7 separate regions of the Homo sapiens genome follow, and regions 1, 2, 3, 4, 5 and 6 are each linked to region 7. The links are contacts of gene promoters, found by promoter capture Hi-C in blood cells and fetal thymus (Javierre and others, 2016). All regions are on one chromosome and are shown on one strand. The core of a region is centred on a gene start or on the middle of the fragment in contact, and the rest is flanking DNA. Distances in the headings are between cores, read along the strand shown. Region 1 holds the start of LOC124905056 (a long non-coding RNA gene). Region 2 overlaps USP25 (ubiquitin specific peptidase 25). Region 3 has its middle 270 kb from the start of USP25. Region 4 overlaps LOC105369302 (a long non-coding RNA gene). Region 5 overlaps USP25 (ubiquitin specific peptidase 25). Region 6 overlaps USP25 (ubiquitin specific peptidase 25). Region 7 holds the start of RBM11 (RNA binding motif protein 11).

What was found. The method cuts DNA at HindIII sites, captures the fragments that hold promoters and counts their contacts. A CHiCAGO score of 5 or more calls a contact.
Region 1: a contact is called between a fragment that was not itself captured here and the fragment with the promoter of RBM11 in region 7, in 4 of 17 cell types (monocytes, megakaryocytes, M2 macrophages and 1 more). The highest score is 11.0, in monocytes.
Region 2: a contact is called between a fragment that was not itself captured here and the fragment with the promoter of RBM11 in region 7, in 6 of 17 cell types (activated CD4 T cells, naive CD8 T cells, naive CD4 T cells and 3 more). The highest score is 8.8, in activated CD4 T cells.
Region 3: a fragment that was not itself captured here is called in contact with the fragment with the promoter of RBM11 in region 7 in 1 of 17 cell types (total B cells); the score reaches 7.1 in total B cells.
Region 4: a fragment that was not itself captured here is called in contact with the fragment with the promoter of RBM11 in region 7 in 6 of 17 cell types (total B cells, naive B cells, M0 macrophages and 3 more); the score reaches 9.0 in total B cells.
Region 5: a contact is called between a fragment that was not itself captured here and the fragment with the promoter of RBM11 in region 7, in 3 of 17 cell types (M0 macrophages, M2 macrophages and naive CD8 T cells). The highest score is 9.3, in M0 macrophages.
Region 6: a fragment that was not itself captured here is called in contact with the fragment with the promoter of RBM11 in region 7 in 1 of 17 cell types (total B cells); the score reaches 5.7 in total B cells.

The regions. Positions count from the first base shown.
Region 1 is chr21:15,559,869-15,563,499 of GRCh38, forward strand. All of the region lies in intron 2 of LOC105369302 (a long non-coding RNA gene), which reads right to left. LOC124905056 (a long non-coding RNA gene) reads left to right here and starts at 3,392. Exons shown (of 2, transcript XR_007067935.1): 1 at 3,392-3,535. The HindIII fragment of the contact is 3,147 bases long and covers 638-3,631 here.
Region 2 is chr21:15,828,777-15,832,952 of GRCh38, forward strand. USP25 (ubiquitin specific peptidase 25) reads left to right here. Exons shown (of 26, transcript NM_001283041.3): 15 at 1,755-1,825; 16 at 2,625-2,853. Among named protein-coding and RNA genes, the nearest start is that of USP25, 100 kb to the left of the region's middle. The HindIII fragment of the contact is 874 bases long and covers 1,448-2,321 here.
Region 3 is chr21:15,459,305-15,463,305 of GRCh38, forward strand. No RefSeq gene overlaps it. Among named protein-coding and RNA genes, the nearest start is that of USP25, 270 kb to the right of the region's middle. The HindIII fragment of the contact is 1,585 bases long and covers 1,297-2,881 here.
Region 4 is chr21:15,585,673-15,589,352 of GRCh38, forward strand. The region is part of intron 1 of LOC105369302 (a long non-coding RNA gene); the gene reads right to left. Among named protein-coding and RNA genes, the nearest start is that of USP25, 140 kb to the right of the region's middle. The HindIII fragment of the contact is 2,851 bases long and covers 507-3,357 here.
Region 5 is chr21:15,851,840-15,856,031 of GRCh38, forward strand. The region is part of intron 20 of USP25 (ubiquitin specific peptidase 25); the gene reads left to right. Among named protein-coding and RNA genes, the nearest start is that of USP25, 120 kb to the left of the region's middle. The HindIII fragment of the contact is 1,985 bases long and covers 717-2,701 here.
Region 6 is chr21:15,762,254-15,766,106 of GRCh38, forward strand. It overlaps USP25 (ubiquitin specific peptidase 25), which reads left to right. Exons shown (of 26, transcript NM_001283041.3): 2 at 638-715; 3 at 3,744-3,853. Among named protein-coding and RNA genes, the nearest start is that of USP25, 34 kb to the left of the region's middle. The HindIII fragment of the contact is 349 bases long and covers 1,361-1,709 here.
Region 7 is chr21:14,214,076-14,217,922 of GRCh38, forward strand. RBM11 (RNA binding motif protein 11) reads left to right here and starts at 2,082. Exons shown (of 5, transcript NM_144770.5): 1 at 2,082-2,207. The coding sequence starts at 2,112. RefSeq lists a silencer at 1,899-2,128. The HindIII fragment of the contact is 12,542 bases long and covers 843-3,847 here.

The DNA.
Region 1 (3,631 bases), core at 961-3,460, 1.3 Mb after region 7:
TTTCACTGAAAATCAACTGACAAAGGCAAAACAATAGCAGAGAAGGCTTGCACAATTTTATTTTAACATGCATAGCACAGGTGATTCTCAGGAGAATGATTACCCAATAACCCAATGAGGTACAGAAGCTTATATCCTTTTTCACAGGGGAGAGGGGAGAATGGGGAATGTGGACAATGCTTCTCAGAGACAGCAAATGATTCTTAAGGAGAAGAAATGGACAGAAATTAACTTGTAAATGATTGTCTTTGGAATTCGAATGAGCCAGAAAAGCAGGCATTCTCTTGTGAAAAATCCATTCTAGTTGCATTCCTCAGTCTTCTTTTCTGAAAGAGACAGGGGGACTTCAGGGAGAGGAAGAAGGCAATCTTGTTCATTTTGGAAATAAGATTTCATGGTGAAATAAGAAAATCCCAGAAAATCCCAGAGAATCCCTTCTTGTGCTTGGGCACGAAGCGGGGTTGGGGGAAGAAGACAATATTAGAGGGACCTGGATTCTGAGGCAGCTTCTAAGGCCTCTCAGCATGTCAAAGTGCCAATCTTTGCAGTTTTATTTTCCAAGCCCCAATAATAGCATAGGGCAGATCCCACTCCTAGTTTTTCTGCTCCTATCGGACACCCCGTCAACTCTCTGACAAGCTTCTTCAACTCCCTGTTCAGGTGAATATTTAGTTCCATGACAAAGGGCTCAAACTTTGATTGAAGGTCACCCCTTCAGCATTGAAACTGGAGGTTTGGAAAGACTGACAGAGTTCTAACTCATCCATTGGAGTTCCAGCTCATTCTCGTGGGTTCCAATTTCTCCTTGCTCTTCACCACTTTGCCTTTGTCTTTTCTTCACAGGTGGCTGCCTTCCTGATTCAGACTTCAGAATCAGGCACAAAGACAATAGACTCTGTTAGACCATTTAAGCAACTTCCAAAATTACATAAGGCCAGTTGGAATTTTTTCTTATAAAAGGCAAACCAAAACCAAAACCACATTTTTCTCTCTACTCTCACTCTTAACACAGAATGCCTCTGTGACCAAACGCGTGGGTTTTTTTTCCCCTCAACACATCAAGCAATTCTTTAGCAGACACCAGTTGGGTGTCCTATAACTCAAATCAATTCTGACACTGTGTGATCCCACAGGTTAAGAGTCAGATCCCACAGGTTAAGAGCTCAATCCCACAAAACTGCCGCCCTACCTTAAGATGCCAATTGCAAGGCCCAGGTTGTGACCTGTAATCCTGATCAATGGCTATAGCAACTGGGATTCCCACAGTCTGCCTCCTTGTGTTCCATAATTTGCTAAGACAGCTCACAGAACTGAGTGAAAGACTTTACTTACATTTACTGGTTTGTTTTAAAGGATATACAGGATATGGATGAACAGCTAGATTTAAGAGATGGCTACAAGTCTGGGGTAGGGGATGTCACAGTTTTCATCTTTCTCTCGGTTTGCCACCCTCTCAGCACCTCCACATGTTCAATAACCAGGAAGCTCATTAAATCTCGTCGTTCAAGAGTTTTTATAGGCTATAATCTCCAGCACCTTCCATCAGGTCAATGGGTGGGGTTGAAAGTTCCAACCCTTTAATTCTTTAATCCCTTGGTCTTTCTGATAACTGGCAGCATCTTGAGGCTATCCAGGGGCTCTATCCTAAATTGAGATATTAGGATAAATACAGGTGTGATCAAAGGGGGTCCATGAATAACAAAAGACACTCTAATTACCCAGGAAATTCCAATGGTTTTAGGAACTAGGTGACAGTAACTGGGTACACAGATCAAATGTATTTCATTCTTAAGGGCTCTGTTTTGTCATACTGAACCTTGACTCATACAATGCCCACCATGTACCTAGCACTGATCGTATGGATATAAAATAAAAATTAATTTTATATTCTGATCATACAGATATAAAAATTAAGCCAATCTAGTGAAGAAGTCTGTGTTAGTTTGTTAGGGCTGCCATAATAAAATATCACAAACTGGGTGGCTTAAACAACAGAAATTTATTTTCTCACTGCTCTGGAGGCTGGAAGTCCAAGCTCGCGGTATCAACATGTTTAGCTTCTCCTGAGGCCTCTTTCCTTGGCTTGCAGATGCTTGTATTCTTTCCGCGCCCTCACACAGCCTTTTCTCTGTGTGCGTTCCTGGTGTCTTTTCCTCTTTTTATAAGGACACTAGTCCTATTGCATTAGGGACTCACGTTTTCTACAGCAGATACACGTGTCGGCAATAACTTAAGCATATGCTGAGAATGACCCTGTAGTCTAAGAAGAATGTGTGTTCAGAGTTCTGAAACCCTGGCCTTTCCCTTAGAACACAGGCTGTCCAGCGGATTGAGGCCCTTTGTTTTGGGTTAAATAGTGATTGCTAGATGGATGGTACTGTGTGAAAATACTGTATGAACTGCATGCTTTTTACAAATGGTAGCACTTCTCCTGTTCAGCTCGCTGCCACTGGACTGTCCCTGAAAGCAAGTTCCCCCAAAGAACCCTGTGTCTTATTCCTTGTCTCCAGGTCTCTTCTTCAGCCTCTCAGACACAGTGCCATCCCTATTGGAGTAAATAGGGGTTCAGGATGACACCTTTATGACCTCGTTTAATCTTTATTACCTCTTTAAGGAACCTATTTCCAATATAGTCACATCTGAGGGTTAGGGCTTCAACATATGAGTTTGAGCCGGACACAATTCTTTCCATGACAAAGGCAAGTAAATAGGAAAGTATAATTGCACCTGAAATATGCTAGATGCAATTATAAAATGTCATGGAAATCCATACAAAAGAAATATAACACAGTTCTGGAAATGTAAATTCAGAGATAGAGTGATTATATAATGTATTATTCAAATAGGGACACTTGTAAGAGTGAAAAGGTGTATTAAAAAGAATTTAAAGGCACTAATTATTTTTAAGCAGGCATAATCTAGAACTTTCCCAGGAAAAGTAGGAGACATATGCACCCTATTCAAAGAAGACCTAATGGAAGAAATACCATCTAAACTGAGACCTAAAGGAGGAAGGGAAGTTGAGACAAAGGTGAGAAAGAAGGGAGTGTACTCCAGGTGAGCAGGCAGAAAGAACATAGTCAGCAGAAAACAATAAGCTGGAGAAACAGTGTGCCATGTTTGGAAAACTGCAAGAGATTTCACATGGCTGAAATTATGGGGGCAGAAGGTGTCAGGCAAGAAGCAAGGCTAAGCAAGATTTAGAGGATAACAGAATTCCTTAAAGAGTTTGGACTTGGTCTGTAGCAGGTGTGGGCCATTAGAGTTTCAGTCATGGAAGCAGCATTGTTTAATTCACATTTTTTAAAGATCTCTCAGATTCGATCAAGACAGCAGACTCCGTCAATTCCTGACTCTTACCAAATACCTCTTTTCCCCCAGGGACAAAGAGCATCATCCAAAAGGCCAAATAAATAACAGCCATGGGAAACAATAAGGAATTCAGAAATGGAAGATTTGCATAAAAACAGAAATTAAACAGTATCAGATAGACAAAGAAGCCACAGGCCAGTGTATGAACAAGAGAGAAAAAGAGGTAAGAGAGAACCTTTTACCTCTTTTCATAAGGGTGTCCCAACCTTATGTGGAAGAGATACAGGACAAACATCAGTGCAGAACACTGAGGAACTCT
Region 2 (4,176 bases), core at 635-3,134, 1.6 Mb after region 7:
TACAGTTGTGTGCCACCACACCCAACTAATTTTTGTATTTTTAGTAGAGATGGGGTTTCACCATGTTGGCCAGGGTGGTCTCAATCTCTTGACCTTGTTATCCGCCCACCTCAGCCTCCCAAAGTGCTGGGATTACAGGCGTGAGCCACCATGCCTGGCTGTTAAGATTTTTATATGTAATACTATGGATCAGGAAAGAAGGTTTTCCTCAGGATATTTTTTTTCTTTCTTTCATCCATATTGATGTTAGCAGTTAGCATTATTTTGTAAACTATTGTGTAATATTCCAACACACGGGTATGATGTAATTCATTTAATTCCCATATTGATATTTCCTAAATAGTGCTGGTCTTCGATATACATATTTATACACTTCTGTAAGTAGGATATGTTCTTTTTTATGTTCAGGGGTACATGTGCAGGTTTGCTATAAAGGTAAATTACATGTCTTGGGGGTTTGGTGTAAGATTATTTCATCATGCAGGTAATAAGCACAGTACCTGATAGGTGGTTTTTCCATCCTCACCCTGCTCCCACCCTCCACCCTAATGTAGGCCCCAATATCTGTTGTTTCCTTATGTCCACCATTTCTGGTTCAGAGTGTGTATATTTTAAATTTTGACGACTGTTTTAAAATTGTCACTCCAAAACATTAAACCAGTTTGCATTCCCACTGTGTGAGAGAGCCTGTCTCCCAGTATCCTCCCTAGCCCTGGACACTTTTTAGTAGTTTTTCACAATTGAAAAACTGGTATTTTAGTGTTTTGATTTGCATTCCCTTAGCTTCGAGTGAAGTTGGATATTTATATTGTTCTGTAAATTTCTTGTTTGTGACATTTGCCCATTTTTTAAGTATTGAGCTATTTGTATTTTTCTTATTACTTAATAGAAAGTTTAATGTATTGTGGATATTAACACTTTACCTATAATATCACATATGCTGCAGATATTATTTTCCCAGTTTTTCATTTGATTTTATGTTGGTTTTGTTTTCTTTTTATAATGTAGATTTTTTAAAGTGTTGGGCAGGGAGGATCTTATCTTTTCCTATAAGGTTACTAGTTTTCTGACAGGCTTAAGACAGGTCTTTCCCCACTCTAAAGTTAGCCAGTTTCTTTTATAGTTTTTCAAGGTTTCTTCCTGATTGGTTCAGCAGCTTCACAATATGATGTGGTTACAATCTAACCGTTTCCTTATTGACAGATATTTAGGTTATCTCTTTTTTAAAAATTATTGTGGACAATATGACTGTGAACATCCCTATCTGAACAATTTTGTAGGATTATTTTCTACTAGAAGTAGAAATAATTGTCATGGGAGTGCCATAATTTTATTTTCACTGGTGATTATAGTCGATTTTTATTCAGTTATGTGTGTGTACAAGATATGTGGTGAACATGTTTTACTTTGTTCTTAAGTTTACTTGTGTTATAGCAATATGTAAGGAAGCTTAGCTTTCATTTTCATTGAAACTCTCCTTTATAGATTTGAACAAAATTCACTTTTATTGGCTCTGCACATTTTCTAGATAAATCATATTTGTGTTGTTTTTAAAGTATGCATTTGTACTGTGTCTTTTATTAAGAATAACTATAATTCATTTTCTACAGATTTCAAATGGTAATGTTTTTTAAGAAAAGTTTTAGGAAAATTTTCCTATTCCTCTAACATGTTTGTAGGAAAAACATTAGTCCTTATCTTATAAGTAGAAACACATTTGCTGTTAATCATTAAATGACACCTTATATCCTTAGATTTGCAGGAAAGCATATCCAGAATCCATCGAACAATTGAATTAATGTACTCTGACAAATCTATGATACAAGTAAGTGAAATTTTGAGCTAGTAATCATTGTCAAAATTATTTACATATATTTTAATTTACCTTTACATTATCTTAATCTAATTTTTCTTTACATGTTTTGTTTTAAAATTTTGGCAAATCTTATTGTAAAATAATAAGGGCTTGCAATATGTACAATGTGACAGTTCATCTGAATGGGGAAACTTTTATAACAAATTTATAACAAAATTCATGACAAGTTTTCCCCATTCAGTTGTATTTTCACACCGTATGTGTTGTGTACCCTTACTATTTTACAGTAAAATCTACCAAAGTTTTTCAAAAGGCTATAGCATCTTTAAAAAGTCTTATGGGAGAAAATCTATGGTTGTTAAAGGATATTAAGATTTGGGAAGAAACTTAAGGACTCCATTACATTTTAACTTCTGGTGTATATCATATAATCTATTTTGTTAACCGTCAATTTAGAATTCTGAAGATGTAGACACATTTGCTATATGTAAAACTGCCCACTATAAGCTTTTTATTCAAATAAACAATTAGGCCAATGAGTATGTACACAATAAATACATTTTTAGTTTTTCAAAAATCATCTTTTTAATCTATCAACTTTGCATATCTTTAGCTTATTCAGATTCCGTCTTTTTAAAGTTTTATAGTTTAGTTTTTTTCAAACTTTTAAGCCCAGCCAGTTCTCTCTCATTTAAAAAAAAAAATGCTCTTATGGTTTTCTCCAAACAGGTTGTTTGTGGGTTTCATGGAATGTGGTATATAGTAAACTACATAATTGCAGTTTAACTCTTCTTTTTTTCACATTTAGGTTCCTTATCGATTACATGCCGTTTTAGTTCACGAAGGCCAAGCTAATGCTGGGCACTACTGGGCATATATTTTTGATCATCGTGAAAGCAGATGGATGAAGTACAATGATATTGCTGTGACAAAATCATCATGGGAAGAGCTAGTGAGGGACTCTTTTGGTGGTTATAGAAATGCCAGTGCATACTGTTTAATGTACATAAATGATAAGGCACAGTTCCTAATACAAGGTAAGAATATATAGGGTGGTGTGTATTTTTAAATAGTCATAAAAGTGGCTCTGGTATGTGGTGTGATTAGTTAAGTGTAATTCACTCAGACGATGAAGGATGTGGTTAGGAAATGCTACTGGGTTTTGACAAGACTGAATTGAAAAGTAATGTCGTCAGGGCTAAGAATTCGTATATATTTTGTATTCCAAGTCAACTATTAAAGGTAAATATGACCTTTTTCGTCCTTGCTAAAAATGCTTTAGTGACTGTTCCACAGATTGACTCACATTTAATATTTAATTCCTTAGCCTAACATATATGGCCTCTGTTCTTGGCCTCTGATTATCTCCCCACCTTCATTGATCACCAGTGTTCCTTTTGAATTTATATCCTTACTGAACTTCTTGCTGTATCTGCTCATATCAAACCATTTCACACATTTATGTTTGCATGTTCGTATATGTTTTATTTTTTGCTAGTAATTCTTTTGCCTAATTCTTGTTTATCTGTCAAGATTCAATTCAGGTGTCATTTCCCCTGCAAACTATTTCTTGATCTGCCAAAAAGTATCTCTCCTTATGCTGTCCTGGCATCTGTCTACTGGGCATTTACTGTTGTGTATTGGAACTGTGTGATGACTTGTCTTGCACATTTCTCTCTTATCTGCTCAGAGCCAGAGATCATGTCATACTATGTCTGAATCTTTTTAATGCTGATATTCTGATATATGCTTTGCATATAGAAAATAATAAAGGTTTATTGAAACTGATAAAAATAATCTTTTTATATTTAGTCATTCAGAATCAGCTAGGCAGTCCACTTCTGACTAAAAAAATGAAGTTATTTTTCTGTGTGTGTAGTAGAAGTTCAGTAATTCTTCTGAATACTCTATTGTTTTTAAGATCTTGCTATATTAATTTTCATAATTGCATATTTAAGTCTACTTAATTTCTTCATATGACAAACAATTTTCATTTTATTTTGAGCTAATAAGGTTAACATGATTATGAGTTGTTTACATTTTGTGAAAAGTTTTACTTTTTAAGTGATCAAACATCTGGTATTTTCCAATAGTGGCAGAAGTAGTATTACATCACTGTTAGAGTAGCAAAGAAAAAAAAAAATGGCCGGGCGCGGTGGCTTATGCCTGTAATCCCAGCACTTTGGGAGGCCAAGGTGGGCAGATCATGAGGTCAGGAGATCGAGACCATCCTGGCTAACACAGTGAAACCCCATTCTACTAAAAATACAAAAAAATTAGCCGGGCTTGGTGGTGGGCACCTGTAGTCTCAGCTACCCGGGAGGCTGAGGCGGGAGAATCGTCTGAACCCGGAAGGCGGA
Region 3 (4,001 bases), core at 839-3,338, 1.2 Mb after region 7:
TTTTTTTTTTTCACACTAGCTAGCAACACATGCCATTGTGTGCTTTTGGATTTGACACATTTGGGGCTTTCTTTTGCTTTCAAAATAAGTCTTGTTATTACTACAGTTTGGGTCAGGCTTATTGTACATGAATGCAATAGTTATATCATTATATTATAAGCAGCTAATTGTACTGGTTGTACTAATGAATTATTCATGGCATAATCACATAAATTCACTTCATGCTGATGCTTTATTTTGCATACTAATTTGAACATAGTGCATTTTTCACATTTTGATCTAGAGATGATCTCAGATAATGACCTGTTTGTGGATATGGGGGTTTACATTGACCTTAATATTTTTCTTTTCTCTAAACATTGCTCCATAATGTGTACATTTCATCAGGGTGGTATAGGTCATTCAGAATCAGGGCCCTGCTAATAATTTCTTTTAAGGCCCTCTAATTATTGCTCATTAACAGAATTTCCAAGATAATCTTTCCAACACAGAGCATTGTGTTACCAGGGTCTTCCAAATAGTAGATGTTGTGCCTATTTTCTTCTCCTTCTAACTCATACTTCCCAAACTAATCCTCTCCCTTTTCTTGCCCAATCTCTGGAATTTTCATTGAATTACTCTTTTCTAACTTACACCTTATCCGTTCATGCCAACAAATCCCCTATAGATAAGCCTAAAGTTTTATATGTGGAGAAATGACACCATTGGCCAGTGGCTGGGTAACCTAATGGTCTCCCTGACTCAACTTTCTCACTTCAAGCCCTCATATAGTTTTCAGATTAGTTCTTCTATAGCCACTAATTAAGGCATGTGCTTCCACTGCAACAGAATCTTCTATGGTTTATTACTCTTTACCCACATTAAAACATCTCTGTTTAGCTTTCAAATCCTCCCTAAAGCATCCACCCTTCTAGTGATCTTATTTCATTTCTCCCTCCAGTGACACCAGTTTACTTATTGCTCTATAAACACAGAAAGTTTATACCACTACCTACACCTTTGTTTATCTCCTATCTGCAAATTCCTGTTTACTTTCACCTATGACATTTTCTCAAGACTCAGTACAAGTGCCATTTAGTTTGTAAAGCCTTCTTGGACTATCACAATCATTAGTGATATTCCCTAATTCCCTTTACCACTTGCCAATGCTTCAGTCACTTCATTATACACTTCTTTATATTTTGTGTTTAGTCTTGTCTCATGTGTTTTAATTTTACCTTCCCAATAGGATTATAATTTTTTTGAAAGTCTGAACCATACTGTATATAATCTATTTATCCCTTTGTAGGGTTGATAAGCTTCTTATTGTCTAGCAAAATCTAACATGTCTTAAGTGCTAATAATCATTTATTTTATTTGACTCATTATTAATGCCTGACATGGCAGGTGTTGACATGTACGTAATAGCATTAAAGAGGGTCCAAAGGACCAAGCTATATTTCATGTTGTGGGTGGTACTTTAAGCAAATATATTTATCATAAAATGGAATAGCAATTTTTCTTTCTGAAAGTCTGAAGCTGAAAAATTATTTGACCTATCTCTCCTGAATTGGAAATATCTAACATCAACCTTTAGGATGAGAGGATCATTTGGCTGCGCTATCTGGTATCCATTTGATTTCTGGGTGGAATTAGTTCATCTGGCTTGCTGGCCAGGTGTCCTATTCATTCCTGGATGCTGAAATCATGAAAAAAAATTGAGAAGATGAGCATCCCATTTGGAGAAGAAGGAACATTCTACAGTCAAGAATATAAAAGGAGCTCCACCTTCTCTCTACCATATTTTAGGAAACAATAGCAAAAATCAGTATTTCTACACACTAAAAGTAGTGTCTATGCCTAACTATTATACAGATTTGCAAGGTTTTTATTTTTAAATCCTTGGATTTCATTGCCTTAAATTAACGAAAAGATGATTTTAAAATAGTGAAGTTTCCTTGGAGATATGCAAGAGCTAGACTGCAAATTCCATCCAGGGAAATGAGAGATCATGTCTACCTTATTTCTAATGTGTCCCCAGAGGACAGCACAGTGTCTAGCATCTAGCAGATGTTCAGTAAATGTTCCTGGATATGTCAATGAATAAACATATGAGATGATAAGTGTTCATAATAAGTCCAAGCATTGTGGACTCCACCTACCAGTTAAGTACAAAGATAGTCTCATGGATGTTAATATCCTACATTTATTGTTCCTAAACTATCCTTCTGTTTAACTGTAGGAAGTCAAGTGTTTTGTAGCTTCCCTACCCAAGTATTCTAACATCTCCAGGGGCACTTGTTAGTTTTTATTGCTTGCTGCTAGGGCTAGCAACCCAGAACTCTCCAATCTTTGGCCCTTGGATTCATGGAAAAACTGTTCCAAGGTTAAAATATTGTTTTCCTAGCCACTGCCGTTATGGCCACAAGGGGAATCTCGCATGCAACATGCCAGTGAAACTGGGCCTGTGCCTCTGTCATGAAGGTGGAGGGTAATTGGGTGGTAGAAAGGATACCCATTCTACATTAGGCTTAGCTAGTGCTTCTAATGGCAATTTCGGTTGAGTCTCAAGGATTAGGCATCCAGTACTTCACACACTCACTCACCCCCATAGAGAATGAGCCAGGATCCTAAAGTTCCAGGCCTAAAGGTCAAGGCCTCTTCCAGGCTGAGACTCTCCTCTCATTGCTATCCTTCCCGCCTGCACCACATGGGGTCTCTTGCATTTTTCCATGTCGCTGAAATCAGAACTAGCACTGCCTAAAATGCAAGATATTTCTTCTCCTGGAAAATCTGCCATGCTTAGAATGTAATTCACGGATAAAACCCTCACTGCCACCTATGCAAAGTGAGAGAAACAGTGTTCCTTCTCCAGTATACTCAGCCAGGGCTCCTAGAACAAAGCTTCTTCAGTTCCAAATGTTATCATGTTTTCTTTGATGGATCATTCAACTAACAGGTTGTTTGGTCCTGTTGAAATAAGGTTGTTTGGTCCACTTCCTGTAATCAGCTGGCAAACTATACCCACATCCATTAACCCCCTCCCCACTCAGGACCTACTGCTGACTCCAGACCACTGGATTATGCCACCCCTTTTCTTTGATGAGTTCCTTCTCATTGTTCCCTTTCCTTTGTCCTCTGAGATCACTCTCTGCCACCTCCAAAACATCAGATATGGCTGAACCTTTCTGGTGAGTGGGTTGAAGTCTTTCCTTTCTTCTCTTAGATCCTACACAAAGGAGTGGTTACAAAGGTGAGTTATGGATGCAAAAATCTTAATAAAATACCGGCAAACCAAATCCAGCAGTACATCAAAAAGCTTATCCACCACGATCAAATCGGCTTCATCCCTGGGATGCAAAGCTGGTTCAACATATGCAAATGAATGAACATAACCCATCACATAAACAGAATCAATGACAAAAGCCACATGATTATCTCAATAGATGCAGAAAAGTCCTTCAATAAAATGCAACATCCCTTCATGTTAAAAACTCTCAATAAACTAGGTATTGATGGAACAAATATCAAAATAATAACAGCCATTTATGACAAACCCACAGCCAGTATCATATTGAATGGGCAAAAGCTGGAAGTATTCCCTTTGAAAACTGGCACAAGACACAGATGCCCTCTCTTATCGCTCCTATTCAACATAGTATTGCAAGTTCTGACCAGGGCAATCAGGCAAGAGAAAGAAGGTATTCAAATAGGAACAGAAGAAGTCAAATCATCTCTGTTTGCAGACATCATGATTCTATACTTAGAAAACCCCATTGTCTCAGCCCAAAAACTCCTTAAGTGGATAAGCAACTTCAGCAAAGTCTCAGGATACAAAATCAACGTGCAAAAATCACAAGGATTCCTATACACAAACAATAGACAAGCAGAGAGTCAAATCATGAATGAATTCCCATTCAAAATTGCTACAAAGAGAATAAAATACCTAGGAATACAGCTAACAAAAGACATGAAGGACCTCTTCAAGGAGAACTACGAACTACTTCTTAAGGAAATAAGAG
Region 4 (3,680 bases), core at 682-3,181, 1.4 Mb after region 7:
AGAGCTTGCAGTGAGCCGAGATCGTGCCACTGCACTCCAGCCTGGGCAACACAGCAAGACTCCGTCTCAAAAAAAAAAAAAAAAAAAAAAAAAAAAGATCTGCTTTTGTTCCCAGTTTACAAATCACTCAAATTTCAATCTACTCTCTTTCTCTTTTGTATTCCCATTGCTCTTTGTAAATACTCTCTTGAAACATTTAACACACTCCTTTTCTCTCACCATACATAAAATCAGGTGGTATGTGTTAATTCATTTCTGACTTTTTCAGGCCTTAATAATCATTAAAAACAATTAAAGAAGATAAGAAGGAAGGAAGGAATGAAGGAAAGAAGGAAGGAAGGAAGGAACGAAGGAAATCATTCTATTCAGATTTCTAATAGCCTGTCTATCTAAACTTGGAGTTGAGGTAATGTATGATCCAAGAGGAAAAAGAAGCAACACGGATAGCTTAAGCGAAAATTAAATTCCTGTAAAGGGTGAAAGTTTACACTTTCTTTTTAGGTGGAAGCTTGATTAGACCACTAGAAAAAAAAAAGAGTTAAATTACTTCTTTCTCTTCCAATAGTCTTGTTTATTACATTGCAGCAAACGTTTGTATATGGAATTGCTTTTTAAAAGCAGGAAATCTGCTTCTCTGTGAACACTGGTTTGTAGCTCCTTTTTCATTTTCTTGACTAACAACTCAGTTCTATAAATTGTTTCAGTAGTTCAATAAACAAGTGCTAAATTGTGAGCTCCCTAAGGATAATGACTGTGTCTTATTCAGTAATGTTTACCAGGAGCCTCACTAATACCAGGAAGGCAAGTTTGCCTACATTTACTCGAGAATATATTGTTGTTAATTCTCTAAAGACCAGTGGAGTACATGTTCTCTCAATGTCTATCCACATGGCAAAACTGTGTGAAGAATAACAACCAGACAGACCTCAAATTTGCTCATTTGATGATTTATCTTGTTTGATGAAAGGCACGATAGCCTAAGAAAACTCTCTTTTCTCAGATACTATTTGCCTCAGATCAATAGTATGCAGAAAATACCATCACAGGACAAAAGAAAATTGTCTTGACTGCAACTAGAGCACAAAGGGGAAAAAGATGTAACAATCTAAATTTCAAGAAAGAAGTCTCAGTTAAAAGCATTGCTCTCAGAAGTCTTTTCTGGTGCCTCTGCAGATGATCCTATTAGATGCTAGCAATTGCTAAGATTGAAATACTCCAAGGTGAGAGAGAATGCTTCGGAAACACAGACTAGATGGCCTATGATTCGTTAACTTTATTAAACAGCACTGTATTTCCTGAACAAACAAAAGAGTACACTGGTATGTTCCTGAACTTTTAAAGTTTTGCATTTGATGGAGTTCAGGACACACTAACCCAGGATGTGGCATCTTGACATTTGAGAAAATAGTAGAAACATGAAGGTCACTCTCACCTTCCCCTTGCCCCTTCTCCTCTGAAGCAGGCCATAAAATGTAGAAATAATTCTCTGACCTTCTCTCCTGTAGCAGAGAATAAAATCAGCTGACTTTCCCGTGAAGCAGATCATAAAATCCTGTTTCCTGAGGTGCCCTCCTTGTACCTGGAGGGAAAGAATGTTCTTATCTCTGAAGTCAGAGGGACACAGAGAAGAATCTGAGCAAACAGGCCTTGCTAAGATGGGGTTTGTTACCATTAGATCATACCTTGTTAGTCCAATTACACTTCTGCACAACTCTCCACTCTTCCTCCTACCTAAGCATAAAAATATACGAGTTTCCCTGTTTCTTGGGGTCTTCATTTCTTATTTTACTTTGTTTGTTTCTTTCTTTTTTTTTTTTTCTTTTTTCAAGTAGGAGTCTTGCTCTGTCACCCAGGCTGGAGTGCAATGACACGATCTCAGCTCACTGCAAGCTCCGCCTCCTGGGTTCAAGAGATTCACCTGTCTCAACCTCCTGAGCAGCTAGGATTACAGGCATGCACCACCACTCCCAGCTAATTTTTGTATTTTTATTAGAGACAGGGTTTCACCATGTTGGCCAAGATGGTCTCGAACTTCTGACCTCAAGTGATCAACCTGCCTCTGCCTCCCAAAGTGCTGGGATTACAGACGTGAGCCACTGTATCCGGTGGGTCTTCATTTCTGAAGGCTCCCATGTCAGGCAAAACTTATATTAAATAGATTTGTTTTTCTCTTGTTAATCTATCTTTTGTTACAGGTGCCTTAGCTGGGAACATTGAAACAGGTAAGGAAAAGATTAACACTTTTTCTCCTTTGCACATTTAACTTAATTAGAGTACACCAGACTCCAAGTCTCTCTTACTTCTTGCTTTCTTACCCCATGCCTAGCTTTAATTCAAATTTGGTTTAAATGGTTAATTGCCTTAGAAGCCTGGTAAAGTAGTTTTTATGTTAACTAAACATCAAATGTGAGTAAATCACTCTGCTAGATGCTTTACATAGTCTACCCAATTTTCCCTTAAACAACTTCCCAAGGCTTATGTTTTTTTTCCTATTTATTCTTAGGAAAACTAAGAGTCAAGTGATCAAGTAACCATCAAGGAAACATTCATAATCTTTCCATTGGACCAGGTCTATCTCCATGTTTATTCAACACACAGTGGCGTCAAATGGTATCCTCTTTATAAAACTTGCTCAAATTAGGGATTCTTCCCCCTCCTTCCCCATCTCCACCTGGAACTCCAAGGTATGAGAGCAATCTGGCTCATCCCTTCAATCTCCCAGGTGAACCAGCATCCAAAGAATTCCTAGCAAGAACAACTTGGCATAGTGAAAAACAACGTGCCAGTTGAGGAATTAGATGTTCTGGGCTCCATTCACCTGACCAGCTGTGTTACCTCTGCCTGATGATTTAACTGCTCTTAGCCTTATGTTCCTTATCTTTCACTGAGGTTAACCATCTAGTTACATAGAATATTTTAGTTTGAGTTATAATGGAATCTCTAAGAGAATAGGTATATGTTGTAAGTATTCTTTAAATTAACATTTAATCCATAAACTGCAAATTAGGGACATTGCCCACACTTTTTAATTTTATTTTATTTTATTATTTTTGAGATAGGGTCTCACACTGTCACTCAGGCTGAGTTGCCATGACACAATCATGGCTCACTGCCGCTGTGACCTCCTGGGCTCAAGCAATCCTCTCACTTCTCAGCCTCCTCAATAGCTGGGGCTATGGGTGCCTGCCACCATGCCTGGCTGATTTCTGTATTTTTAGTAGAGATTTGGTCTCACAATGTGGCCTAGGCTGGTCTCGAACTCCTGGGCTCAAGTGATCTGCCTGCCTCAGCCTCCCAAGGTGCTGGGATAGCAGGCATGAGTCACTGTTCCCAGCTGCTCACAACTTTAAAAAAGAAAGCTTAGTGTCTCAACTACATTCTAATGTCATATGGATTATGTTCCAACAAATTCTTTTTCTCAAAGAAAACAATTATTTAAAAAATCATTAACATGTTTGTTTATTATTTGACATTTAAAATGTGCTGTTTTTATATTGAAATAACTCTATCCAAAGTGTACGAAGAGAGAATGGATTCCCTAAGATGGTCAAGTGCAGCAGCATGTTAGCTATCAGACAATAATAAATTGGGAATGACAGATAGTGCTGACCATGGTGCATTCCATAGTGAGAATGGTAAGGACTTAGCAGCTTCCCATTAAATTAATGAGAACCCTCAGC
Region 5 (4,192 bases), core at 459-2,958, 1.6 Mb after region 7:
ATAACTAGTAACTTGAGATCTCCTTTCACCATCATTCTGGGGATTCCCTTTGCATCCTTTCCTTTGTGTATTTTCCATATTTCATATATTTTTCTTTATTGGTTTGCTCTATGATTTTGATAGTACAGCAAGAAAGCATGGGCAAGAATCAAGTTTGTGGAAGAGGGACAGAGCATTTTCTTAAATAAGTTATGTTATATTGCAACTCTCAGCACATAATCTAAATAAATACTGTGGTTAATAAACTTCAGTGAATCTGAGGTAAAAGTTTTCAAGTTGCTTTGGAGATTGAGTCGAATTTGACGTTTTACTCATAGCATAAGGAAACTGTGCTCTTTGTCAGATGTTAAAAATAATTACTACAGAATTTCTATTTCACTAACCATTCTCCTTACTATCATCATACTCCCTTTCTTGCTTTTTTTTTTCTGCTGGAAAAACACTTACAAGAATAGTGGGAATGTACATTAGGAAGGAAGTAGTTTATATGTTGATATTAGCAGCCAGACTGCCTGGGCCGACTGCTTTCTAGCTTTGATTTTGGGCAAATTATTCAATCTTTGTATCTCAGTTTCCCGAGGTGTTAAATAACTATTTATTTTATTGAGTCATTGTGAGCTTTAAATAAATTGTATCAATGTTACGCTTTTAAAGTAGTATCTGGTTGATAGTAAATGCTCAGAATTTAGCTGTTATTGTTGTTAGTATTATCACGAAGCTTATCTTATGTGTCCAGTTCTGGTCCACATATAGTCGGAGATGAAAAATGAGAAAAATGAATGTGCCATATCTGTGTCAAGGACCTTTATTTGCTAATAGAATTTTTTTAACTCATTTGTTAGAAATTGTCAGTACCATTTTGGAGTAACAAAATTAGCAGTTTTGTTTGGCTTAACCTAATAATTACTATCATAAAACCCTCTTTCTACCTTTTTATGTCTTTAGTGTGTGTATATGTTTATAAAATTTCTGAAGTTTGTGTACATTTGCACCTATCTGTGATTGAGTAATACATGAGTGTAACCCCTTTATGTAAACATACATCAAGTTGTTTCTAATTAATGCATGTTTTTGGTAAAGGTAGAAGCATTTGGACACAACTCTAGCTGATAATATGTCACCTTAAAAATTTTTTCGTATAAAAAATGAAAGTAATGTATACAAAATGCAGTTGTATTCAGTAATATAGAGGTGTCTAAAATAAAACTAACAATGACAGTCTCTGCCACTGCCATGGCCCTATTGTAACCATTCTTAGCACTGTGTATCTTGTTTTTTTCTTTTTGTTTATAACAATGCACATATACAGAGACTTAAAATTTTTTTAATGTAGATTTTACTGTTCATAATATTTTGTAACTTATATCACTCAGAAATCTATTGTGGGCTTAAAGTTTAGACAGTATCACATTATCTTTACTAGCTGTCTGTATACACACATACACATGTGTACACATGTGTACACACAGGTACACACATGTACACGCACACGTGTACACATACATGTACACACACATGCACACATGTACACCCACACAGTATTCCATGCTATAGATATATTCTCATTTCTTGTATCTTACCCTCTTTATGGACATGTGTCCTATATTTTCTCCCAGTCTACCATTTCTATTTGAATTAGTTTAGAGTACTTTTTCTTAAACAGGTTTTAAAATAGTATGTTCGTTTTCCTACTTTATGGATTTTTTTTGCCATATTAAAAGATCTACTCTTACCCAAAGTTATATAAATTTTCCCACTACTTACTTAAAATACTTTTCTTAGTAAATTTTTATTTTTTAAATTCAAATGCTTACTGTTTAACTCATTAGCATTTTATTTGGGCTTTCTGCGTTCTGTATTAAATGAATTTGGTGTTTTTCTATTTTGTGCTGTCTTCATCAAGTTTGCAATTAGGGTTATGTTAGCTTTGGTAAATGAATTTGAGAGCTTTCCTGTTTTTTTTAATACTTAACCGTGTTAGCGTTGGAATGATCTGTTCTGTTAGTTAGAACTCACTCGTAAGATCATACGAGCCTAGCGCCTTCTTGCGGGGTAGATCTTTTAACACATTTTTTTGGTTCATTCCATAGTTATTGGCATGTTTAAATATTCTTCCTTTTTTTGATTGATTCTAATCATCATCATCATTCAGTATTAATTCATAAAATATGTACACACCATAGAATCTAACATATGGTTGCTGCTTCTGTCTTCCTGTTTCCCCTCAATTAGATATAGTATTTTTAAATTTTTGTTCTTTTTTGTGCTTAGTGTATTATAAATTGAGGGAAAAGTTGTTTGTTTTGTTTTGTTTTGTTTTGTTTGAGGCAAAGTCTCACTCTGTCGCCCAGGCTGGAGTGCAGTGGTGCGATCTTGGCTCACTGCAACCTCTGCCTCCCAGGTTCGAGCAGTTCTCCTGCCTCAGCCTCCTGAGTAGCTGAGACTACAGGGGCCCGCCACCACACCCAGGTAATTTTTGTATTTTTAGTAGAGACGGGGTTTCACCATATTGGCCAGGCTGGCCTCAAACTCCTGACCTTGTGATCTGCCCTCTTCGGCCTCCCAAAGTGCTGGGATTACAGATGTGAGCCACCACGCCCGGCCGTGTTTTTGTTTTTTTTTAATATCTCTTCTGTCCTGCCACGTCCTGAAAAAATCTTGGTCGGGTCTATTTTACATTAGCTTTTTGGCTATGAAAGAAAGCTTTTTAACTCTGTGCCTGTTTAGGTACTTCTGAATATGGATTTCCTTATGTATTATGATTAGACCAACTTTTTAATACTCTGAATGTTTGCTAGTGATAAGAATAGTGATGCCACTGTCAGCCTTGTTATAAGAAACTTAGGTCTGAGTAAGTGGACTTGCTAAAGTTTAACCTCCGAATTAGGAAGTTACCAACCCAGTCATAGGAACTCTTTCAACCACAGGCCATCATCCCACGTGAACGTCTACCCAATAAGAATGCAGTATGAAAAAGTTAATAGGCAAAGTTGATCTGGAAAAAAAAATGCAATGGGCTACACTACACTAACTTGAGTCCTTCTTCAAATTGACTTTAATGGTTAAAACTAGTTTCTACTATAGAAAATCCCCAAATAATAGTGGCTTACGGAGAGAAGATTCTGTTGTGTAAAAATGAAATTCAGAGGAAAGCAATACAAAGTTACTATGATAAGCAAAAATAAAAGCCAGAAGATAAAAACAAAATATTTTCAAAGTACTCGTTGCTTGTATATATGTGTAGAGGTGGGAGGGTCATATTATAATTACAATTATGGGATTAGTGTAAGTTTTTTCATTTATTTTAAAAGACATTAAAATTTCTTTTTTTGTAAAAATTTTGTCGGTATCAAAGTACCCTTAGGGTTTTATTGAAGTAATACTTTTGTATTATAAAAATTTTTTCTTAATAGTTGTTTCATTGCTTCATAATAATGGTGTCCCTACTTGCCGTAACTTTATCACCCTTTTTTGCTTTTGAAATGTCTCTTAATCACCTTGTTTATTCAATAGATATAAAAATGTTTATTAGAATATAAAACATGTTGAAAAGTACAACTCGGTGAATTTTTTTTTGAGTGATACTTTCCTTATTTACATGGCCTTTAAGGAATGTGAAGAGGAAGAATTATTTATCAACATGGTATTAATGAAATCTTGTTCCCTAAAGGTATACGCAGGCCTAAATCGTTAATGCAAAAAATATACTTCTCCATGCATCTTGTTAAATTCAAGACAGCGGTCCAACATTTCCATGCTTAGCCAAAGAAGACTCTTTTCCTCTTGGTTGTGTACATTTGTAGCCTGAGTTTTAAGTGCCACATCTTTCAAGTCAGTTACACATCCTGCCTTTAGGCTCTCAGACTTGTACTTCCAACTCTGGGTTATCACAGTGTGTGTTTACCCATGTGACCACCAACTAGGCCAAGAGGTAGAACAGGAGTACTCCAGAAGTACCTTTTTTCCGCCTTCCCATCACTACAGTCTGTCCGTACCCAAAAGTAGCCATTATCTGGACTTCTAACAACATACGTTAGTTTTCTTGTTGGCCTTTATACACTTGGCATCTTTTACTCTAGGTCCTTTTTTGTCTGACTGCTTTTACTCAACAGTGTGTTTGGAGCTTCATCCATGTTATACAGTTGTCATTTCTTCCCTCTCATGGTATTTTGTTGTATGACTATAATTTTTT
Region 6 (3,853 bases), core at 285-2,784, 1.5 Mb after region 7:
AGGAGGAAGTTGGTTTTTATTTAAGGGCCATCAGGGGAGAGTTTGATAGTGAAATCCTATCTCTCTACCTCTTTTCCCTTCCAGTACAATGCAGTCAATTTTATAGGCCAATAGCATATAAAGAACTGAAGCAAATGGGGGCAAATGATCTATTCAATTTAGAATCTTTTATGACAGATTGGACAGTGAAATGATCTTCTTTTTAAAGTAGATCTGAAGATCTCCGTGGTATAATTACCCACCGAGTTATGTCTTGCCGAAAGCATGTCTTTTCCAAAGGTGTTTCTCTCCTTGTGCTTACCATCATGGATAAGGCCCCTTTTCTTGTTAGGTGGCATAAATGAGGGGATGAAGAAAAGGACAGAAACTGCTAATTCAGTAAGACTTATTGGGGAGTAATGTAGAGAAGTTACCTTTTCGAAACGTGAGAATGAAATAAGGGTTCTCCACAGCATGATTCATTCTTTCTAAAAGAATGAAGTTGTTTGGCCTTTCTCAAGTTCTTTTTCCTTTTTTACTCTAGTTTACTTTATTCTGTTTTTTGTTTGTTTTGGAAAACCAAAGGTGATTTGTTTTCTTTTCCTAGTATATTTTCAGAGTTGAGAATATAATGATTTTGGGTTTTTCCTCCCTCTAGCACCAGCAGACGTTTTTGAATCAACTGAGAGAAATTACGGGGATTAATGACACCCAGATACTACAGCAAGCCTTGAAGGTATGGCCTCTGTTTTATGATATACAGTTTGTGGTATATGCTCATCTCTAGTGCGTATTATATTTGATAGTTGATTTTTTTTTTGGGGTATACCATGTGGTAGTTTTAGAGATACAGGAATGGACTTTGTAAAGTAAAATCCTCAGTTAACACACTGCGGTTTTGAGGATGTTAGCTTTCAGCAGTCTGATGTCCATGATACCTTAGAGTGACAGATAACCTCTTTCTATATATGAAATGCTTTTTGTGCAAGATAGTGGGATGTGAATCCTAATTCTAATGGATGGTTTTACTTACGAGCTGTGATTTTAGAGTTTAAATGAGGGTTCAAGGTGGGGTGTATTAGAGGATGAGGTGTAAGAGAAGGGAAAAGTAGAAAATTAATAGAAGTCTGAAAACTTACATTTTTCTTCTCCTGAGAAGCAGAGATATAAATTTGCACCCATTCAGCTAATTACACCCTAAGTTAAACATTCAATTTCAAACTCTTCAGTATAGGCAACAACTAAAATGTATCATTTTGGTCATATCTTAGTTGGACCTTCAGTTTCACATCGACATCCAAATGAGTCATATCATATGGATACTCACATTGAAAAAGAGTGAATGAAAGCTATTTAAGAACCAGAACTGTACAGTATTTTAAGCTTATTTGCATATTACTACTATAGGCTAAAAACAATATAGCATTTTTGCCACTGCAGTCATATACACAGCTCCAATCCTTTGGAACTTGATTTCAAGCCTAGAGTTCTTTATTTGTTTTTAGAAATAATCTATTAGATGATTATAATAAAAGTCATTATAACAATAAGTAGTACCGATTAAACATTTAGTACTACCAGGCAGTATTTTAAGTACTGTATGTGGGCTAGCTCATCCTAATAATAAATAACTCTATGAGATAAGTATTAGTTTCATCCCCTTTATGAAAAGATGAGCAACAGAGAGGTTAAAGTAACTTGCCCAGGATCACACAGCCTGTATGTGGAGAAGCTTGGAATAGAAACCAAGGCAGCCTGATCCCAGGTGCCACACTTAATTTATGCTTCTTTTACTAGAAGCTTTGCTTCACCTTATTCCCCCATCAGGAAAATCATGAAATAGTAGTGTTTAGAGCATTAATGCGGGGTGTATGAAGCCACTGTAAGTATTTGGAGAGGAAGCAGAAGTGCTATACCTCAATTTTTATGATTATGACGTTTAGATAATTGCTAGTCCCTTTTTATTCTGATAAATATCATTACTAAATTCCATGTTTGTTTTCAGAAACTGCCTTTTTCATTATGTATTACTGAGTGTGAGACCATAGCCTATCACCTTGCCAGGGTAAATTTGGGGAATTTGCTTTTTTTTTTTTTTTTAAACTTAGAAAATATGTAGCTCGAATGAAGTCTTATCCACATTTCCTTTGATAGAGGTTGTGTGAGCATAGGTATTTTTAATTTTCCAAAATTTTTGTTTCAGTTACCAGTAGCTAGGGGAAAAGAGTGTATTTAAACCTTAATTGTTGCCCATTATAAATACTGACGAGAAGTCTACTTTTGAGCACTGTAATGTCATTGATTAATTTCAGTACTTTTAATTTGAGAACATATTTTTAGCTCTAAAAAGTAAATGAACTTCAATTTGTGTAAATTCCTGCTGTGTTGTTTTAAATTATTATATGAGGTAATATATGAAAAACACTTAGCACATTTCTTGGCATATAGTAAGTGCTCAATAAATGTTAGCCATCATTATTGCGCTTTATTTTATTGTTAGATTACTTATTTAACAATAGTGTATCTTACATTTTGGATGAGTCACTTAGGAATCGTCTAATGATCATGACAGATAGCATTTTTGAAAGTGGTGGTGCCTTTGAAACTGCATCCTTACTCCTTTTGTCACTGACTGCTACAACTGGAATTGGGGTAGGTCTTGGGGACTTTATTCTGCCAGCTGCTCAGTCCTTAAATTTTGGAATCATCCTGATCCTACTTCTGTCATGTCCCACATTTAATAAGATAGCAATAATATTGGATGCTGTCTTCTGCCCTTTCTCTCCTCTAGTCTATTCTTAATACATGGAGTAAACTTTTTAAAATGTAAGTCATACTATGTCATTCCTTTCCAAAACACTCCACTGGCTTCTTATTACACCCGTGTGCATGTCTAAGTTCTTAGGGAACCTACAGAGCCTTCCATGTTTTGGTTTTCTGTTACAAAGATAGCTTCGTTGTGAATATCTGGGTTTCCTATGTTGTTTTGGTTAACTGTTTTAGAGCTAACGTTTTACTTGCTGTCAGTTGTGCAGAGAATATAAAGATGTAACTGGGCAAGTCTCTTCTCATTTTGCTGTTTTAAATTAAAATTCTTATTCTGGCATCTGCTTTCTTCTAAATAAACTTTAGAATAATTTTATTCAGCTATACTTTTGATGAGAACTATGCAAAATGTATCTATTTAATTTGAGCAGGATTGTCATCTTGACAGTATTGAGTATTTCTGTCTAGAGTTCTGTGTGTCTTTCCATAATTCCATATTATCAAGCCCTTCAGTACATTTTGCCATTTTCTTCCCATGAGTCCTTGACATTTTGCTTAAGTTTGCCCCTAAGTATGTATCCAGCACCCAGATTAAAAGGAATATCTTTTATTGTCCTTGTTTGTAGAAGTACTAATTTTAATACCCATTTTGCACTCTTTCGTATGGCAAGTTCCAGAAGACCTTTTTTAGTTTATTTGTTCAAAAGTATAAGTTTGTGATTCACTTTTATTAAGCAGATAGGAAAGTAATGAAGACTAAGAAATTAGAGATGGATTTTTACATTGTATCAGTAGTTTTAATTAGTAAGAAAGGTATTACTATTGATATAGTATACTTTATGTATGATGCATTTACACTATAAAATTAGAATCACATATAGATTAATTGCAAATTTAAAGCAATTTTGTTCTAGAGAGTTATGGAGAATATTGTATAACTTTTTTTGATGGATAAAATTATTTCAAAACACTTGATACTCCTTTCTTGATATTTGAAGGATAGTAATGGAAACTTGGAATTAGCAGTGGCTTTCCTTACTGCGAAGAATGCTAAGACCCCTCAGCAGGAGGAGACAACTTACTACCAAACAGCACTTCCTGGCAATGA
Region 7 (3,847 bases), core at 832-3,331:
TATTATATGTTCATTCAGCTAGGGACATCAGACATCCTGATATAAATGAAGAAAGGCTAGCTCTTTATAGAGTGTTACATGTATTTAACCCATTAAAACCTGATATATGACTAATGGTACAGTAAATACTGAAAGTGAAGTGAATTATTTTTAACCTACTACTAGATTTATTACCATGCATGCATTCAATATGAGTTAAGAAACAGAACATGCTTACATTAGAAAAATGATATATTGAGATCATATTCTGAAAAAATTGCTAACTACAGAAGCTGACTTTCAGAGTTTATAATATTAACTAAGTATTCTAGAATTATAAGCACTATAAACTTATGTACGGCCAGAAGAGGATATTATAACACCAAAATTATGCACATTTGTAGACAAAGAAGGATGCAAATTTCAATAGAACAATATAATATGAACATTAATTACAAGTGTAGTTAAAGGTTTGTAGCATACGCACTCATATACATGCAATGGTTTAAACTGAAACCTGAAGATACAGCTTGCATATAAGAAGTGTCTGAGGGGAATTCAAGGAGGAAATATGTTGCTTTGATGAGATTTATGAAGTAAATGAATACAAATAAATCAAGAGGTCTACACATAACAGAGACTTGCAAGTATCCATTCATTTGATCAACATATATTTATTTGCCTACAATATGAGTGTTTCCTTAACTCCTTCTTACTGTACCGCAACTCTACTGATGATAGAGGAAAGAAAAAGGAAAAAAAAAAATGGAGACAGGACTTATATCAGTTGAAGGTAACTACTGAAGTTACTAGCATTTATATTATATTTGTGAGGGTAGAAAGGCTGTCTCTCCCAAAGTATAAGCTTTAGGAGGTCAGACTTTTATATTTCCCTTTGTTTTCCAAGAATTAAGCATTCAGAAAATACCTATTAAATGAAGTAACTATATTTAGTCCAATCCATTCCTTAAGAAACAGAATCCGAATTCCAAAGAGAAATTACTTGTTCAAAGTAATAAAACTATGTAATGTCAGAGATCAATTAGAAATTAGGATTTCCTAAAATGTGTACCTTTTCATTAGAAAAGATGACTTTTTTTGGTCCATCAACCAGATAAAAGCATGCTTCCTCAATTCAAAATGAAATTTTATCACGATGCCAAACTAAAGGTCAAATAATGTTCTGATCACCTATATGATATTCATGAGATGATCTCAAGGTCCTATGTAGACGTATGGTAGCTTCAGAAAGGAAGCCAAGTTAACAGTTGACAGCTGATTTATCAAAGTATTGAGATTCTAAGTTTTCTTTCTCCTTTCTTGTAATTTTATTGTTCATAAGACTTTTATTAAAAACAAAAATTATCCCCAAGAAAGAACTAAGCCTTTAGCCTGGTACACCATATACAAAGTATAGCCCTGAAACAAAGTACAGCCGTTGGATCCTGACACAAACCCTAGCTGCCATCCTCAAAAATTCTGGCTTAGACACAAAACTGGCTCACTCTCACCAGTATATCCCTTGGTATTTGCTTTCTCAAGTTCCTTTTGGAGTCCACTTAAAACCTCTGCGACCAGTTTCAAAAACTCATCTAGGGAGCACTTTCTAGGAAAATAAACTTTAATTCTAGTTTTCTGTTGTATCCACATCCATGCAAACATCGATTCTTTCAAAAATTATTTATAGTTTAATATCTTCATGATTTGTTCATTTATTCTTTGGACCCAAAGAAATGTATCTCCCCGCATTTGCCTGGGAGCTTCTGCAATGAAGTTACCACAATTTAAATCATCTCTACAGTGACTTTATTTAAAATGTTGATTGAATAAATCCAAAATCAATTAATGTGCCAGAAAAAAAGGAAGCCACCCCACTAGCTAAAGAGTAAAGCCCTTTCTGCATTCATCTTTCTTACTCTCACCCACTCTCCCACCGCCCAGCCCTACGCCAGGCGAGGGAGCAGTGCGGTGGGCGGTACCCCAAGTCCGCTGGGGGCGTGGCCCTGGAGCCATGCCTCGCCCCCAGCGCGCGCTCCCGGCGCCGGCCCCGCCCCCTCACCCAGGCGGCGCCGTAAAGCCGGAGAAGGGGCGGGGTCTCAGCTCCTACTTCATTCTACGGCCGAGACCGGAGGATGTTCCCTGCTCAGGAGGAGGCCGACAGGACCGTGTTTGTTGGGAATTTAGAGGCCCGAGTTCGGGAAGAGATTCTGTACGAGCTGTTCCTTCAGGTACCGTCTCTGGGAAGGGGCGGCGGAGGGGCGGAGCACGTCGGGCCGGAAACATAGCGCGCACCTGGACCACCCGGAGCCCGGCCCCCTTCCGTCCCATCCTGAGCAGGGGTTTTAATTTCGTTTCCTCTTGGCGCACCTGTCTCCAGGTGAGCGGCTGGGGAGTGAAATGAGGGCGCGTTCCCCATCCCCATCCGCGCTGCAGAGTCCTGGGGTTGGGCAGGGACGTGGTTCCTTCAACCCCCGTTTCTGATTAAGGGCTTCCCAGAGGCTGCCTGGGCCTCGGGTGTGCGCGGGCAGAACCGAAAACAGCCTGGTCACTGTTCTCCGTCAAGTAGTAAGCACGCCTGACATCCCCCAAAAGGAGAGGGGTCGCTTTTATAATGTTTCCTTTTACACCTTGCTCCTTCCTTCAAGCCCTTTTATGCGGACAGTATTTTTATTCCAGCATGAAAAGTGAGATTTGAGATGATTTGGCAGCCAACTTACCGTGACTGTGACCAGGTGATTCCCTGGACAAGGCCCTTTAATTCATACCAAGAGGACCTTCGGAAACTTTGAGATCTGGTACCTCTAGGATTAAGCCTGCTGTGTCCTGTATACACGCTCACTTATCGTATTGTCCTATACAGCTAGGTATCACTTGCCAAAAAGATACACTCATTCAGCCATTCCCCTAACCGTGTAATGATCCGGAATTACGGGGCAAATACTGAGGGTGCTGGGAAAACAAATTGACGAGACATCCTTTTATCTTCCTAACAGGGAGAACTTAAAATTACAATGTTTACGATAATCTATAAAAAGAGAAGGGACATAGATAGAAAAGTGGTTCCGCGTGCGAACTCTGAGGTCAGCAGTGTGACTCTGAGCCTGTCAATGAATTCCTCAGTGCTTCAGTTTCCTTATATGTCAAAAGAGAGTAGTAGTATCTGCAGTATAATGTGGCTATCGGAATATGTGGCCTAATGGTAAAATGGCTACAGCTGAGTCTAGCACTCGCTGTTTGCTACCGCTACTACTGCTAATGGTACTGCTGTTATTATTAGTAATAATACTAACATCAAGAGAAATCAATAGTTACTTTCTCCTATCAGAATAAGGGAAAGTTCCGAGGGAGGCAATTACAGAACTAAATTTTCAGGATTGAATGGGTCAAAGGGGTCCTTTATTTGGTTGTGAAAGGACTTACTTTTGTCTCGAAACTTAACTAAAGCAACCCTCTTTTAATTGTAGATACAATTTGGTAGAGAGGGTTCTTTCCAGGAATACAGTTTCCTTTCCTGGACGTAAAACTTTTTTATTATTTGAAAAATATTATTGATTTTAAGACTTTTAGGTTCATCCTTTTAATTCATCTTTTTAAACTTGCCTCCTTTTTTATGAACTCTAATCCATATCTGTTTTTTCATTCAGTATCATTTAAAACTTACTATATTAAGTTAAAAAAAACAACAACAAAAACCGAAAGAAATATAAAGTAAACTTAGAGTTATTTTTCTCCAGAAGACTTCTTTCACTTTGAGCCTCCAAAAAAAGGAGAGTGGAAGACTGGGGTGGGATTGCATTATCCAATAACCATTATTTTTAGTCAATCAGGACTCGATCAATATCAGTTGTGTGGATCCACAAGACTATAT